3 separate regions of the Homo sapiens genome follow, and all the other regions are linked to region 1. Evidence: promoter capture Hi-C in human tissues and cell types (Jung and others, 2019). All regions are on one chromosome and are shown on one strand. Each heading gives the region's core, a stretch centred on a gene start or on the middle of the fragment in contact. The rest is flanking DNA. Distances are from core to core; before and after follow the strand shown.

Region 1 (4,864 bases), core at 894-3,393:
GTTGGGACTACAAGCGTGCATAACTCCGCCAGGATAATTTTTTGTATTTATTGTAGAGACGGGGTTTCGCCATGTTGCCCAGGCTGATCTTGAACTCCTGACCTCAGGTGATCATCCCGCCTCAGCCTCTCACAGTGCTGGGATTACAGGCGTGAGCCACCGCACCTGGCTAATAGCTATTTATTGAAAGTACTGTGATAAGCATTTTAGATTCATTGTATCATTTTAAATTTACAGGGCAACTCATTGAGGTTAAAATCATTCTATCTCCTTTAGAAACTTCAAAACTGATCTTAGTTCAAGAAAGAAGTTACTATTCAGTGATCACCGAGGCTCTAACAAGTGGAGCCTAGATTCGAAACCAAACCCTGTGACTTCAACACCCAAACATTTACGTTCTTACGTTTTACTGTACAGCCTTCCTCCTGGATAAATCAGATTAAAATTTTGAAGACATGTATATAGCTTGTCAGGGTAGTACAGTTATTAATTCTGTGGTTACCACATTCTTTTATATCTCAAGACTCCCAGCCCCAGGATCTAAGTCATAGCTCTTGATTATGGCCCACCCCCAGTAGGGAGCTGAACTTACTACTTCTGATATGAAAGAAGCCAGAGTAGTTGTTTCTTCCAAGTCACTCACATCTGAGATGGCCCTCAAACCCTCCTTGGTGGTCTCCGGCTGAGAGATGTTTGCGTCTTTCTGATCTTGGTAATACTGGATCAACTGCTGAACCCCAGACCTTAATGCAGGTTTAAGTGCAGCACTGATCGCTAGACCCATAGGCCCCCCTGACATCCCAGCCATGGTCATCAGAAGGTCATATCCCAGATCTATGGCCCCATCTCGGCCTCGTTCCCTGGCCTTGCCCAGGCAGTTTTGAGTAGCATAATACAAAGCTGTGCCCAGGTTGTAGAAGGTTCCCACTCCTGGCAGCAGCTGGACTACATTGTGCACAGCTTGCTCCTTCTCATTCTCACAGTCCTCTGTCGGGAGGGAGCGCCCGACCCTTCCTGTGCTTTGCTGCTCCCTGGCTAACAGCTGCAGAGCAGAGGCCAGGGCTTCCACTGACACGTTCCTCTCTGTGCTTCTGCCTTTCTGGAGCCCTCGAAGATGCTGGATGAGGACCTGTGTAGCATTCACACCACCCTGGCGGTAGAGCTGTAGCTGTAGAGCCCAAACATCAGCCTGACAACCAGCTTCCTCCAGGGCATTCCTTAGAGCCAGGCTTACCAAGAACTTGGGTAGAGGGGCCATGTGGCTGAAACCAGGCAGTGACTTTGGGTGCAGAAATTGGCAGGACAAGGGGTCTGAGGAGGGTGTCTGGGATTCCAAGGACAAGGGAAAGTGCATCAAGACATTTGTCTGCTTTCCATATGAAGTGGCATCCACAGGGTGCAGCAGGAGGTAGCAAAGTAGCAGCTCAACTGGTATCATGATGAGTCTGAGGCCACGCATGTCTGGAGCAGAGTACCCTAGAAAGGGGAGAAATCCGAAACATACAAACCATTTCCCTAAGGGCGATGGTGAGCCCAAGACTCAGTTAGGGGGACACCTCATACATCACCTGCTTCCAAGCTTTTGTACTTTCTTTTTAGAGACAGGGTCTTGCTCTGTTGCCCAGACTAGAGTGCAGTGATGGGATCACAAATCACTGCTGCCTTGAATTCCTGGGCTCGAGGGATCCTCCTGCCTCAGCCTCCCAAGCAGCTGGGACTACAGGTGCGTGACACCATGCCCAGCTAATTTTTAAATTTTTTGTAGAGACGTGGTTTTGCCATCTGGCCCAGCCTAGTTCTGAACTTTGGGCTCAAGTGATCCTTCCACCTCCGCCTCCCAAAGTGATAGGCTTCCAGATGTGAGCCACCGCGCCTGGCCCCAAGCTTCTGTTCTTTTTAGGTAAAGGCCTAGGAAATAGGAAATGCACCCCAGTTGCTCCCACTTGGTCTCCCCCATTTACAGGTCACCAGGGACTTCTGTTTTATTTCCACCCATATATAGGGACCCCAAATTACCACACAGTCCAGTCATTGAGAAGTGAGACTGCCTTGGTAGGTTTGATCGCTTCCTGATCCTGTTCTGCCTAGTTCTGTGTCCCATGAGGAAAGGAGATATTTGCTTTCCCCTATGATCAGTGAAGGATGTAATCTCTGCAAATATTTGCCCATTTATACTGGCTGCTCAAACCTTGTGCCCCTTGTCACACACTCAACCTCTATGCCTACAGTCCTGTTCTTTGGCATTTCCTGTATGTCCCTGCCACATTCCCACTCTAAGCTCATGATAGGAGCCAGGGAAATTCAGAATTAGGAAAGATGAGATGTTTGTGATACTCTCATTTCTCTTCATTTTAAAAATTAAATTAGCGGCTGAGCATGGTGGCTCACGCCTGTAATCCCAGCACTTTGGGAGGCCAAGGCGGGCGGATCACAAGGTCAGGAGTTCGAGACCAGCCTGGCCAATATGGTGAAACCCTGTCTCTACTAAAAAAAAAAAAATATATATATATATATATATATATATACACCCAGGCGTGGTGGTGGGCGTCTGTAGTCCCAGCTACTCAGGAGGCTGAGGCAGGAGAATTGCTTGAACCCGGGAGGTGGAGGTTGCAGTAAGCCAAGATCGCACTACTGCACTCCAGCCTGGGTGACAGAGTGAGACTCCGTCTTAAAAAAAAAAAAGGAGGGGAGCTGACACCTACTAAGTGGAGAGGGGCAAGGCTAACACTGGTCACATATGTGTTTAAGGGAAGAGGTGAAATAAAGAGCATTCATCTGTCCTAAGTGGTCTCCAACATTTCTAACTACTTACTGTGTGCCATCCTTGAATACAGTCCTGGGAAAGGAGACTCATTACTTATGTGATATTGAATAGCTGAAATGAGCCGGGATCAATTCCTGGATCATTTTCCTCACAAAGCACTTCAGAATAGCTGTGGAACATTTGATAGATTATATTGTCACTGTCCATGGACAATTTAAATGATCTTGAGAGCTTCTTCAACTTTTTGCCTAATTCTTCAATATGCTCCCAAGACTCATACCTGCAGTTCTTGGTGATGTGGACACCCAAAACTTTGAACTGTGACACCAAGCATCATGGGAGATGGTTTCTCAGCAAACTCAATCACCATCTGAGCTACCTGGTAGGCCAGCTACCCCAGTGGGTATATTTGCCACCATCCATACATTTCCCAGGATGGGCAGCTGGGTGCTGGGTTTATTCACACTTCCCTAAGGGACTACTAGATTCGTCACAATGATGTTGGTATTGCCTTCCTCCCCATTGAACTTTTTGACTCTCACGGATGAGGGTTTCAGTGGTATCCTTTCCTCGCATCTGAAACTGCAGAACATGGGCCTCAGTTGGGCAGCCCACCTCCTCCAAGGGCACCCTCAGAGCTAAGTTGGACAGGTACTCAGGCAGAGGGGCTAGGGAGGGGGCTGTGTGTAAGAGATCTTGGCAGATCCTGGGATCTGGGAGAGGAATCTGGCTCTCCATGTTCTCCAAATAATGGAGAGCATGTTTGATGGATGCCCAGTCTCTGTTAAAGATGGCTGGAGGGTCAGAGTCTCATTCTGAGCATTTCTTGGAAAGGCAGACACCAGGGACAGCAGGACACAGCAAAGCAGCAGCACAGCTTGGACCATGGGGGGACAGCAGAGCAGCCCTGCTGGAAGGAAGCAGTGCTCAGGTTGGGAAGTGGAGAAAGGCTCAGGACAAAGAGACACCAAGACTGGCCAGAGCTAGAAAGTGTCTTAGCTCTTGGAAACTTCGGTTGCCCTGAGCACACCTCATCTTCACTCTTAAAGGATGTGGGTGATCCTCCTATTTTGAGGAGAAACAAGTCAGAGGAAAAAAACAGTCCAAACATCTCATTTGCTTTGGTATCTTCATGACCTGAATTACTATTATTGTTGTTGTTGCTGTTTTTAATCTGCCCTTTCCCAGAATCACAAGGAAACCAGAAAGTTGATGGCTTCCAAAACAGTGAAGGACAAAACATTTGCAAATATTTATGCATCTCTTCCCAGCCCAGACTTTGTCCTTCTCACCTTTGACCCATACTGACAAACTGACCTTTCCCCTTTTAGGCCCTGCAGTCCTGTCCCATATCTTTTTTTTTTTTTCTTTTTCTTTTTCTTTTCCTTTTTTTTTCTGGAGACACAGTCTCACTCTGTTGCCCAGGGTAGAGTGCAGTGGCACGATCACAGCTCACTGCAACCTCCACATCCCGGGTTCAAGCGATTCTTGTGTCTCAGTCTCCCTAGTAGTTGGGATTACAGGCACGCACCACCATGCCTGGCAAATTTTTGTTTTGTTTTGTTTTCTGGAGACAGTCTCACTCTGTTGCTCAGGCTGGAATGCAATGGCGTGATCTTGGCTCACTGCAACCTCCACTTCCCAGGTTCAAGAGATTCTCTTGCCTCAGCCTCCCGAGTAGCTGGGACTACAGGTGTGCGCCACCACGCCTAGCTAATGTTTTTGTATTTTTAGTAGAGATGGAGTTTCACCATGTCAGTCAGGCTGGTCTCAAACTCCTGACCTCGAATGATCTGCCTGCCTCGGCCTCCCAAAGTGTTGGGATTACAGGCGTGAGCCACGGCACCCAGTGACATATCTTTTCTATCCTAAGGTTTTACCCTAAACCTATATTTGAGCTGAGGAAAAGGTCCTCCGTATCTTCTTGAGGGGAGAAAGGGTAAGGCAGAATAGCTGGTGATCTCTGGGACCCCTAAACCATTTTTCTTTTCTTTTTTTTTCTGAGACGGAGTTTCGCTCTTGTTGACCAGGCTGGAGTGCAATGGCGCGATCTCAGCTCACTGCAACCTCCGCCTCCCAGGTTCAAGTGATTCTCCT
Region 2 (4,864 bases), core at 816-3,315, 300 kb after region 1:
GTGGAGGCCAAGGCAGGCATATCACTTGAGCCTAGGAGTTCGAGACCAGCTTGGGAAACATGGAGACCCATCTCTACAAAATATATGAATAAAGTCCACCAGGTGTGGTGCTTGAGATATGATTGCACCACTGCACTCCAGCCTGGGCAAGACCGTCTTTTTGTTTTGAGATGGAGTTTCACTTGCAGCCCAGGATGGAGTGCAATGGTACAATCTGGGCTGACTGCAACCTCTGCCTCCTGGGTTCAAGCGATTCTCCTGCCTCAGCCTCCTGAGTAGCTGGGGTTACAGGCATGTACCACCACGCCTGGCTGATTTTTTTGGATTATTAGTAGAGACAGGGTTTCACCATGTTGGCCAGGCTAGTTTTGAACTCCTGATCTCAGGCGATCCTCCCGCCTCAGCCTCCCAAAGTGCTAGGATTACAGGCGTGAGCCACCGTGCCCGGCTTTTGAGACACTTGTCTACAGAAAAGTTCGTGGTGCAATCTTGGCTCACTGCATCCCCAATGGCCCAGGCTCAAGTGATCTTCCCACCTCAGCTTCCAGAGTAGTTGGGATTACAAGAACATGCCACCACACCCAGCTATTTTTTTGTCAAGATGGGGTTTCGCAGGCCGGGCGTGGTGACTCCTGCCTATAATCCCAGCTCTTTGGGAGGCCGAGGCAGGCTGGAGTCCGAGACCAGCCTAGCCAACATGGTGAAAACCCAGCTCTACTAAAAATAAAATTAGCTGGGTACGTGGAGTGCGCCTATAATCCCAGCTAGTCAGGAGGCTGAGGCAGGATAATCGATTGAACCTGGAGGGTGGAAGTTGCACTGGGCAACAGGGCAACACTCCGTCTCCAAAAAAAAAAAAAAAAAAAAAAAAAAGGGAGTTTCACCACATTGCCCAGGCTGGTCTCAAGCAATCTGCCCGCCTCAGTCTCCCAGAGTGCTGTGATTAAAGGCAGGTGGGAGCCACCGTGCCGGCCTGTATAATGCGTTTCAAGGCTGGGCAGTAAGCCAGTGAATCATTAATTCCCAAAACTGAAGTATAAATTTTTTGAAGAAAAACAAGTTTTTTTAAAATGTTTTCCCCCCTGAAGCTAAGAACTACACATCGTAATACATTATGCGTATCTATTATCGCACTTTCCATCAAGTTTTTGTCTCATGTTTGTCTCCCCTAGCCTGTGAGCTCTCTGAGCTCAGCAATCATCTGAAATATTAATCTTTGTATCACCAGCACTTTAACTGCCTGCAACACAGGTCCTGAATATCTGACAAAGAAACACTAAAATACATAGTGTTTCTACATTATGACAAATACAGAAGCTGTGAGGGAATGAAAACTGCCAAAATGCAGAAGTTCAAAGATTTAGGAGGACAACACATTTAGTTTTATTTCAATCAAATCACACAACACTTTCTTTTCCAACTGCTGCAAAGTGCATCTACAATATGCTATTACAGATCCACTTTTAAAAGGTTTCCTGTGACATTACAGCAAGCCTCTTTTTTCAAACAGAGGAATAATCCCAAATTCTTCCTCAAATAAACTCCATTCCAGTAAATGGTAAATACATAAAAATTACAGTAAGCCAGACACTTAAAAGGACAGCCAAGAAGTCTTCCAACAGTTTATTAGAAAGAATGTAGACATTTAAAAAAATCCCCACTGTCATGAACATAAATTGAGGTTTTCAGCCCGGGTATAAGCTGAATCAAAAAAAGGAAATAAAAAATCCAATAGTGTATTAAACATTTTTCACTCATTTGCCATACTGACAGTGCAAATACAAATCTGGACTAAATGTACAGACTCTCAAGCAACAATGTACAGCTTTCTTCGTCCTCCATGCTAAGAGATGTAAAAGCTTAAGGGTCAAACAATACCAATTGTATAGGCTTCAAAAACCATCTAAGTTAGGGCATTCTCTAGTTTTAGCTAAGATACACCTGGAACACTGACAAGTCATCACTTACATAGAATAATGTGAAGTAAATTTTTTGAAAAATAAATTTTAGTGGAACAATCCTGAAGGATAACACCAGAAGAATAGCAGGTTACCAGTAAGGTGTCAGCCAATTTGTTCCAGTCACTTTTGAATCCATGTTCTATAATCTAAAATTTATTCTCTTTCCCTAAGCTGAGAGCTTCCTATCATGTCAGTATCTATGTTATGAAGAAAAGGAGACTTAGGTGAGATGTTTTTATTTATCGCAACTGCTGCATTAATTGCCTAGGACCTCAACAGCTTCATGAAAGTCTGGGAAATGTTCATGCATAAGGTTATTGCCTTAGCTGACTTAAAATTGCCCCATACAATGGTACATATCAACCCTTAGTGAAGCCTTTTAAAAAACAAACAGGTTGAAAAATGGGTTAAAGTAGGCAAATACAGCATATCTGCCTTTAGAGCTATCAACTCAGGAATTCTCTCAATTATGAAATCTTGCAGAGAAGTTATTTTTCTTTCTCAAAATCCAGGTGATGACAATATTCCTTACTCCAGATCTGGCATTTCTGAAAGAATTTTTAAAAATATTAGTATATAGTACAAGTGAATAATCTACCAATTTTACTGTCTTAAAGGAAAAGCAACCAAAAATCGAAATACATAGTTGCCCAATGAATTAATAGGTTGTCTTGCTATCAAGTTATTCACATTTCTGCTTTGGTTATTTATTCAAGGTCATAAAGAAAAAATTACTTTACTTCCAAAGAAGTTAACATCTCTATTTTGAGTTTGTTTTTTGATGCAAAGTATCACTGTATAAACATACTTTTTATATACACTTACTTTCATCATCACTGTCTTGTGAATCCTGAAAGAGGGAAAATAAAGTTACCGAGCTGATCAAATATTCGTTTGCTAACTGAACAGTTTACCTAAAAAAGTTCAAGTGCTATATTTTTGACTAAAGTAGCACAGGTAGGTAGTCATATCAAGCCTAGAAATTTAGTCATTGGACTTGACTAGGTTTACCTAAGGTGAATGGATGTACAGCAGAGGATTTATCTACCTATAAAAAATGATGTGTGCCTTTTGGTGACAATTTAGCCCACCCGTTGAATCCATTCCTAAATTAACCTATCTCGGCATTCAAAGAGAAAACATGGATCAATATGAAGAAAAATGGACTGATAGAAGACAGTGAACTCTAATCCTAGCTGTTGAGTGAATATTAAGTGTTTTTCTAAATAGCATTAAATAACTTTCTGGGAGATGTTAACAGGATGCTGGGGTTGGAAAGATGTTGAGAAAAGTAGTTTAGTGTATCTTCCTCTTACAGATTTCCAATGTCCATCTTTTTTTTTTTTTTTTTTTTGGGTGGGGGGAGATGGAGTCTTGCTCTGTCACCCAGGCTACAGTGCAGTGGCGAGATCCGGCTCACTGCAACCTCTGCCTCCCGGGTTCAAGCGATTCTCCTGCCTCAGCCTCCCAAGTAGCTGGGATTACAGGCACCCGCCACCATGCCCGGCTAATTTTTGTATTTTTAGTAGAGATGGGGTTTCGCCATCTTGGCCAGGCTGGCCTGAAACTCTTGACCGCATGATCCACCCATCTCCGCCTCCCAATGTCCATCTGTTTTATCGGTCTCTGACCAATCCTGACATAAAACCTATTTAACTTACTTTCTTAGTCAAAATCATACCTATAAACTGACTCTCTTCTTTCTTTTTGAGATGGAGCCTCGCTCTGCTGCCCACACTGGAGTGCAATGGTGTGATCTTGGCTCACTGCAACCTCCGCCTCCCAGGTTCAAGCGATTCTCCCACCTCAGCTCACCAGTAGCTGGGATTACAGGCACCTGCCATCATGTCTGGCTAAGTTTTTAAGACAGGGTTTCACCATGTTGGCCAGGCTGGTCTCGAACTCCTGACCTCACGTACTCTGCCCACCTGGCCTGCTGGGATAACAGACATGAGCCACCTCGCCCGGCCTAAACTGACTGTTATAATTGAGTACGGTATTAATATATAATGTCTCTATACAATGATTCTTTGGAAATCTAATCCATTTAGGAATGGTCTACGGTACAACCAGTTCCCTAATAGATACCCCCATTCGTCAAAAATGGGCACATTTTAAAAATTGCTTTTCCCTTTTCTTTTTTTTTAGAAAATAAGAAGTAATTGTGAATCTATATAAAACCATTTGTAAATATGTTGTTTCTTACTATTTAATAGTATGAAAGTAAACAGAAAAAAGAATTTTTAGACTTACATCATCTGCTCCATCTACTTCTGGTAAATCTACATCCTCATCACCACCCATGTTGTTCATCATCTATTTGAAGTGTAAAAATTAGTTTTAAAAATGATGTTAAGTTAGGCCCTAATTATTAATGCTGTATGCTTCAGAATAAACCTTAAGTCTGCCACAGATATCAAAAAATGCAAAATGCAAATATAAGCATCTTTCCCTTCTGGAAAAGGAAGATTATAGGTAATTATACAAAATCCTAAAAACCCATATGGAAATTAAAACTAAATTTTCCCTAAAGAAAAGCAAAGCTATTCATGCAACAGGTTTGACAAACATTAAAAATTCTACTTGAGTAGTGGTTACCTCTGGTGGTTAAGGAAAAGAATGGGATTCATTTGTAGTTGCACAGCTATCTATCTTAAGTTAGGTGGAACATGTATTAAGGTATTCTTTTTTTTTTGAGACAGAGTCTAGCTTTGTCGTCCAAGCTGGAGTATGGTGGCGTGATCTCAGCTCACTGCAACCTCCGCCTCTGGGTTCACGCAATTCTCATGCCTCGGCCTCCAGGGTAGCTGGGATTACAGGCGCGTACCACCACACCCAACTAATTTTTTGTATTTTGGTACACACGGGGTTTCACCATGTTGCCCAGGCTGGTCTCGAATTCC
Region 3 (4,864 bases), core at 1-2,500, 280 kb before region 1:
ATTTAATTGGACCTATCTGTCTGCCTCATTCTCCCACTCCTGAGTCTCAGGTGTCCTTTTGGATGGGTGGAGAGGTAAGGAAGAGGCGTTCCGCTGCGGCCCTTAACCCTGTCACTTCTTTCCCTACCTCAGAGATTCTGTCAGGGGGTGTTTATATTGAGAAGAACGATAAGCTTTGTCACATGGACACAATTGACTGGAGGGACATCGTGAGGGACCGAGATGCTGAGATAGTGGTGAAGGACAATGGCAGAAGCTGTAAGTGGCCGTGATCAAGATTGCTCCCCAGTCCCACCAAACCAGAGTGACTCCCTTCTTTCCATCATCCTTACATTCCTGATCTGAACCCGCCTCCCCAGTGAACAAACACCTCAGGTCCCTGACTCAGCAGCCCACCAGGGCAGACCATTCCAGTCTCCTGGAATCTAAACCACAGAGGAGGTGTTTCAAGAAAAGGAGCAGGCCGAGCATGGTGGCTCATGCCTATAATCCTGGCACTTTGGGAAGCCAAGGTGGGAGGATCGCTTGAGCCCAGGAGTCCAAGACCAGCCTGAGTAACATAGCAAAAAATCTACAAAAAATTAAAAAAATCAGACAGGCGTAGTGGCTCGCACCTGTAATCCCGGCTACTCAGGAGGCTGAGGCAGAGGATTGCTTGAGCCCAGGAGGCTGCAGCTGCAGTGAGCTGTGATTGTGCCATTGTACTCTAGCCTGGGCAACAGAGTGAGACCCTGTCTCAAAAAAAAAAAAAAAAAATCCCTGAGTACTAAGCAGGGAAGCCAGATCTTTAGACTCCACATCTGTTACTCGTTCCACTAGAATATACTCCCATTTCCTTGGAGCCCACCTTCCCCTGACCATTCACATGCATATATTCCTGCATATATTCAGTTTGCCCAGGAGGAACTAAGTTCCTGGGTTGGGACTAGGACTAAGGTTGGCATTTGCCCCAGTCCCTCCCCTTCAGCTGCCCAGTGGGTGGTGTGGAGGCGTGGCCGCGCCCCTTGTTGACAGGTCCACTTGAGCCCAGCCCTGCTCTCCAAGGGCAGGGAGGGACACAGCCCTGGCTTTTTGCTTCCCGGGATTGAGGTGCCTGTGTACTGACATCATACCCCGTTGATTAAAACAAGCCTTTCTTAGCCCTGATGGCCCCTTGTGTTGCCTTCCTTCCCAACCAGGTCCCCCCTGTCATGAGGTTTGCAAGGGGCGATGCTGGGGTCCTGGATCAGAAGACTGCCAGACATGTGGGTTTGAAATTCCCTCCAAAAACTTCACTCATACGCTTTCATATCCCTTCCTCCCCAAGCCTGGGTCAACACTGTGGGGGAGGCATGAGCAGTGGCCTCAGAATTCAGTCCTAGGAGCCCTAACAGCCATGCTTTCTCTCCTTCCATAGTGACCAAGACCATCTGTGCTCCTCAGTGTAATGGTCACTGCTTTGGGCCCAACCCCAACCAGTGCTGCCATGATGAGTGTGCCGGGGGCTGCTCAGGCCCTCAGGACACAGACTGCTTTGTATGTACCCTTTCCATTGCCTGGGTTCTGAAATTGGGATGTGGCCTTTGAGGAGGAGGTAGGGGTACACACGTAACATAAATCTGATGAGCCTCCTTTTTTCCCAGGCCTGCCGGCACTTCAATGACAGTGGAGCCTGTGTACCTCGCTGTCCACAGCCTCTTGTCTACAACAAGCTAACTTTCCAGCTGGAACCCAATCCCCACACCAAGTATCAGTATGGAGGAGTTTGTGTAGCCAGCTGTCCCCGTAAGTGTCTGAGGGGAAGGAACAATGATCAACAATAGTAGATCCAAGATTTTAGACAAAATTGTGGAAGGGAAAAAGAATCCAGTTGGTGATAAATAGGGAGATTGGTGAATGGTTATGATCATCTAACCACTCCAGTGAGTGACCCTTACGTCCAGTCCTCCCATGACTTCAGCTATCACCCTTACTTCTGCTCCTTGTAGCAACAAATAGTGAAGAGACTTTTGAATCTATAGGGCAGCACTTAAGGGATCTAGGGTGGCAGATGGGGACAAATCCAGTGCAGAGCTGGAGGGAGCCTAGGCCCAGAGCAAGGGTTCCATTGGTAGCTGGTGATGTTCCTCCCTCATCTCTAATGGTGTCCTCCTCCTCTTCCCTAGATAACTTTGTGGTGGATCAAACATCCTGTGTCAGGGCCTGTCCTCCTGACAAGATGGAAGTAGATAAAAATGGGCTCAAGATGTGTGAGCCTTGTGGGGGACTATGTCCCAAAGGTGGGTAGGAGATGGTAAGAAGTTGTAAAGAGACAGCCTTTCCTCTGAGCCTGCGCAGACCACCCCCACTGAACCTCTCTTACATTTGCAGCCTGTGAGGGAACAGGCTCTGGGAGCCGCTTCCAGACTGTGGACTCGAGCAACATTGATGGATTTGTGAACTGCACCAAGATCCTGGGCAACCTGGACTTTCTGATCACCGGCCTCAATGGGTTAGAGATCCTGCCTTCCCTCCTTAGACCCCAGCCCACGCACCCCTCACAGTTCATTTCATTGGCCAAAACTTTCCTATGTGGAGCTGACTAGGAATCAAAGTCATAAAATTCTAGCCTGTTACAAAGGACCTGAAAGAATGCTTAACACATCCTCCATCCAGGCCTTCGGTCCCCTCAGGAACATCTTTGAGCAATTCAATATCGCCCTGCCAAGGAACAAGGGACAGGAACAACATATCCTCCTTCTTAAAGTTTTCTTTTTTATTCTTTTTTCTTTTTTGAGATAGGGTCTTGCTCTGTCACCTAGGCTGGAGTGCAGTGGCGTGATCTCGACTCACTGTAGCCTCGACCTCCTGGGCTCAAGTGATCCCAAGTAGCTGGGACTATAGGCACACACCATCATACTTGACTAATTTTTTTGTATTTTTTTGTAGAGACAGGGTCTTGCTATGTTGCCCAGGCTGATCTCGAACTCCTGTGCTCAAGCAATCCTCCCATCTTGGCCTCCCAAAGTGCTAGGGATCACAGCACCCAACCTCCTTCTTAAAGTTTTGTAAAAGTTCTTCCTTAGATTTGGATAAAAATCTGTCTCCAGGCTGGGCCCGGTGGCTCATGCCTATAATCCCAGCACTTTGGGAGGCCGAGGTGGGCGGATTACGAGGTCAGATCGAGACCATCCTGGCTAACATGGTGAAATGCCATCTCTACTAAAAACACAAAAATTAGCTGGGTGTGGTGGTGCACATGCCTGTAATCCCAGCTACTCAGGAGGCTGAGGCACGAGAATCACTTGAACCCAGGAGGCGGAAATTGCAGTGAACCGAGATTACACCACCGCACTCCAGCCTGGCGACAGAGCGAGACTCTTTCTCAAAAAAAAAAAAGAAAAGAAAAGAAAATTCTGTCTCCCCATGACTTTTAGCTGTTTTCACTCATTCTGCTCCTTGGAGCAAAAAGAACAAAGGGACTTTCTAGTCTATAGGACAGCATTTAAAATGTGTGTGTGTGTGTAAAAAAAACCCACTATGACCACCTGTTTTTTTTTTTCCTTTAATTTTTTATTTTGACATAATTTTAGATCTACACTAAAGTTGCAAGAATGGTATAAAATTCCCCATATACTTTTTTTTTTTTTTTAAGACAAAGTCTCACTCTGTTCCCCAGGCTAGAGTGCAGTGGTGCAATCTTGGCTCACTGCAACCTCCGCCTCCTCTGCCTCCCGGGTTCAAGCAATTCTCCTGCCTCAGTCTCCTGAGTAGCTGGAATTATAGGTGTGTGCCATCATGCCCGGCTAATTTTTGTATTTTTAGTAGAGACAGGGTTTCACCATGTAGGCCAGGCTGGTCTCGAACTCCTGACCTCAAGTGATCCACCCGCCCCAGCTTCCCAAAGTGTTGGGATTACAAGTGTGAGCCACCGCGTCTGGCCCCCCATACACTCTTTTACCCAGATCCTCCAAATGTTAACATACCACATATGGCCGGGCACAGTGGCTCATGCCTATAATCCCAGCACTTTGGGAGGCTGAGGCAGGTGGATCACTAGGTGTGGATCACGAGGTCAAGAGATTGAGACCATCCTGGCCAACATGGTGAAACCTCATCTCTACTAAAAATACAAAAATTAGCTGGGCGTGGTGGTGTGCGCCTGTAGTCCCAGTTACTCAGGAGGCTGAGGCAGGAGAATAGCTTGAACCTGGCAGGCAGAGGTTGCAGTGAGCCGAGATCGCGGCACTGCACTCCAGCCTGGTGAAAGAGCGAGACTCTGTCCCCCGCCAAAAAAAATACCACATACGCTTTATCACTTCTCTCTCTCTCTGTCTCTCTCTACACACACACACACACACACAAAACACATGCTATTGTTTTTCTGGACCACGTGAGGGTAAATTTTCACACATGGTTCTTTCTTACCCCTGTTATATTTCAGCGTATATTCCTTAAAAATAATATTTTCTTACATAACCACAGCATAGTTGTTTGAATCGGAAAATTAACATTAACACAAAATATTATCTAAGCTACAGACCTTATTCAGATTTCACTAATTGTCCTCCTAAGGTTTGGGATCATACATTACATTCAGTTATCGTGGCACTTCAATCTCCTTTATAACAGCTCCTCAGGTTTTGTTTATCTTTCATGATATTCTTGATGAGTATAGATTAGGTAATGGGCAGCATGTTCTTCAGTTTGGATTAGTTTGATGTGTCCTCATGATTAGATTCAAGTTTTTGTAGTTTTTTTTTGAGACAAGGTCTGGCTCTATTGCCCAGGCTGGAATACAGTGGCATGATCTCAGCTCACTGCAACCTCTGCCTCCCGTGCTCAAGCGAGCACCTCAGCCCCCTGAGTAGCTGGGATTACAGGTGCATGCCACCATGCTTGGCTA

The links. Contacts are between HindIII fragments. The study calls those that stand out against the background at their distance.
Region 2: a fragment that was not itself captured here is called in contact with the fragment with the promoter of APOF in region 1 in 2 of the 25 tissues and cell types used here (liver and spleen).
Region 3: a contact is called between a fragment that was not itself captured here and the fragment with the promoter of APOF in region 1, in 1 of the 25 tissues and cell types used here (hippocampus).

What each region holds. Positions count from the first base shown.
Region 1 is chr12:56,360,714-56,365,577 of GRCh38, forward strand. APOF (apolipoprotein F) reads right to left here and starts at 2,144. Exons shown (of 2, transcript NM_001638.4): 1 at 2,017-2,144; 2 at 1-1,476. The coding sequence starts at 2,032. The coding sequence ends at 512. The HindIII fragment of the contact is 13,203 bases long and covers 1,732-4,864 here.
Region 2 is chr12:56,661,990-56,666,853 of GRCh38, forward strand. PTGES3 (prostaglandin E synthase 3) reads right to left here. Exons shown (of 8, transcript NM_006601.7): 6 at 4,215-4,277; 7 at 2,787-2,811; 8 at 1,360-2,509. The coding sequence ends at 2,490. Among named protein-coding and RNA genes, the nearest start is that of ATP5F1B, 18 kb to the left of the region's middle. The HindIII fragment of the contact is 7,230 bases long and covers 1-4,864 here.
Region 3 is chr12:56,086,399-56,091,262 of GRCh38, forward strand. ERBB3 (erb-b2 receptor tyrosine kinase 3) reads left to right here. Exons shown (of 28, transcript NM_001982.4): 4 at 133-258; 5 at 1,179-1,244; 6 at 1,397-1,515; 7 at 1,623-1,764; 8 at 2,145-2,258; 9 at 2,350-2,470. Among named protein-coding and RNA genes, the nearest start is that of ERBB3, 8.7 kb to the left of the region's middle. The HindIII fragment of the contact is 6,453 bases long and covers 1-4,477 here.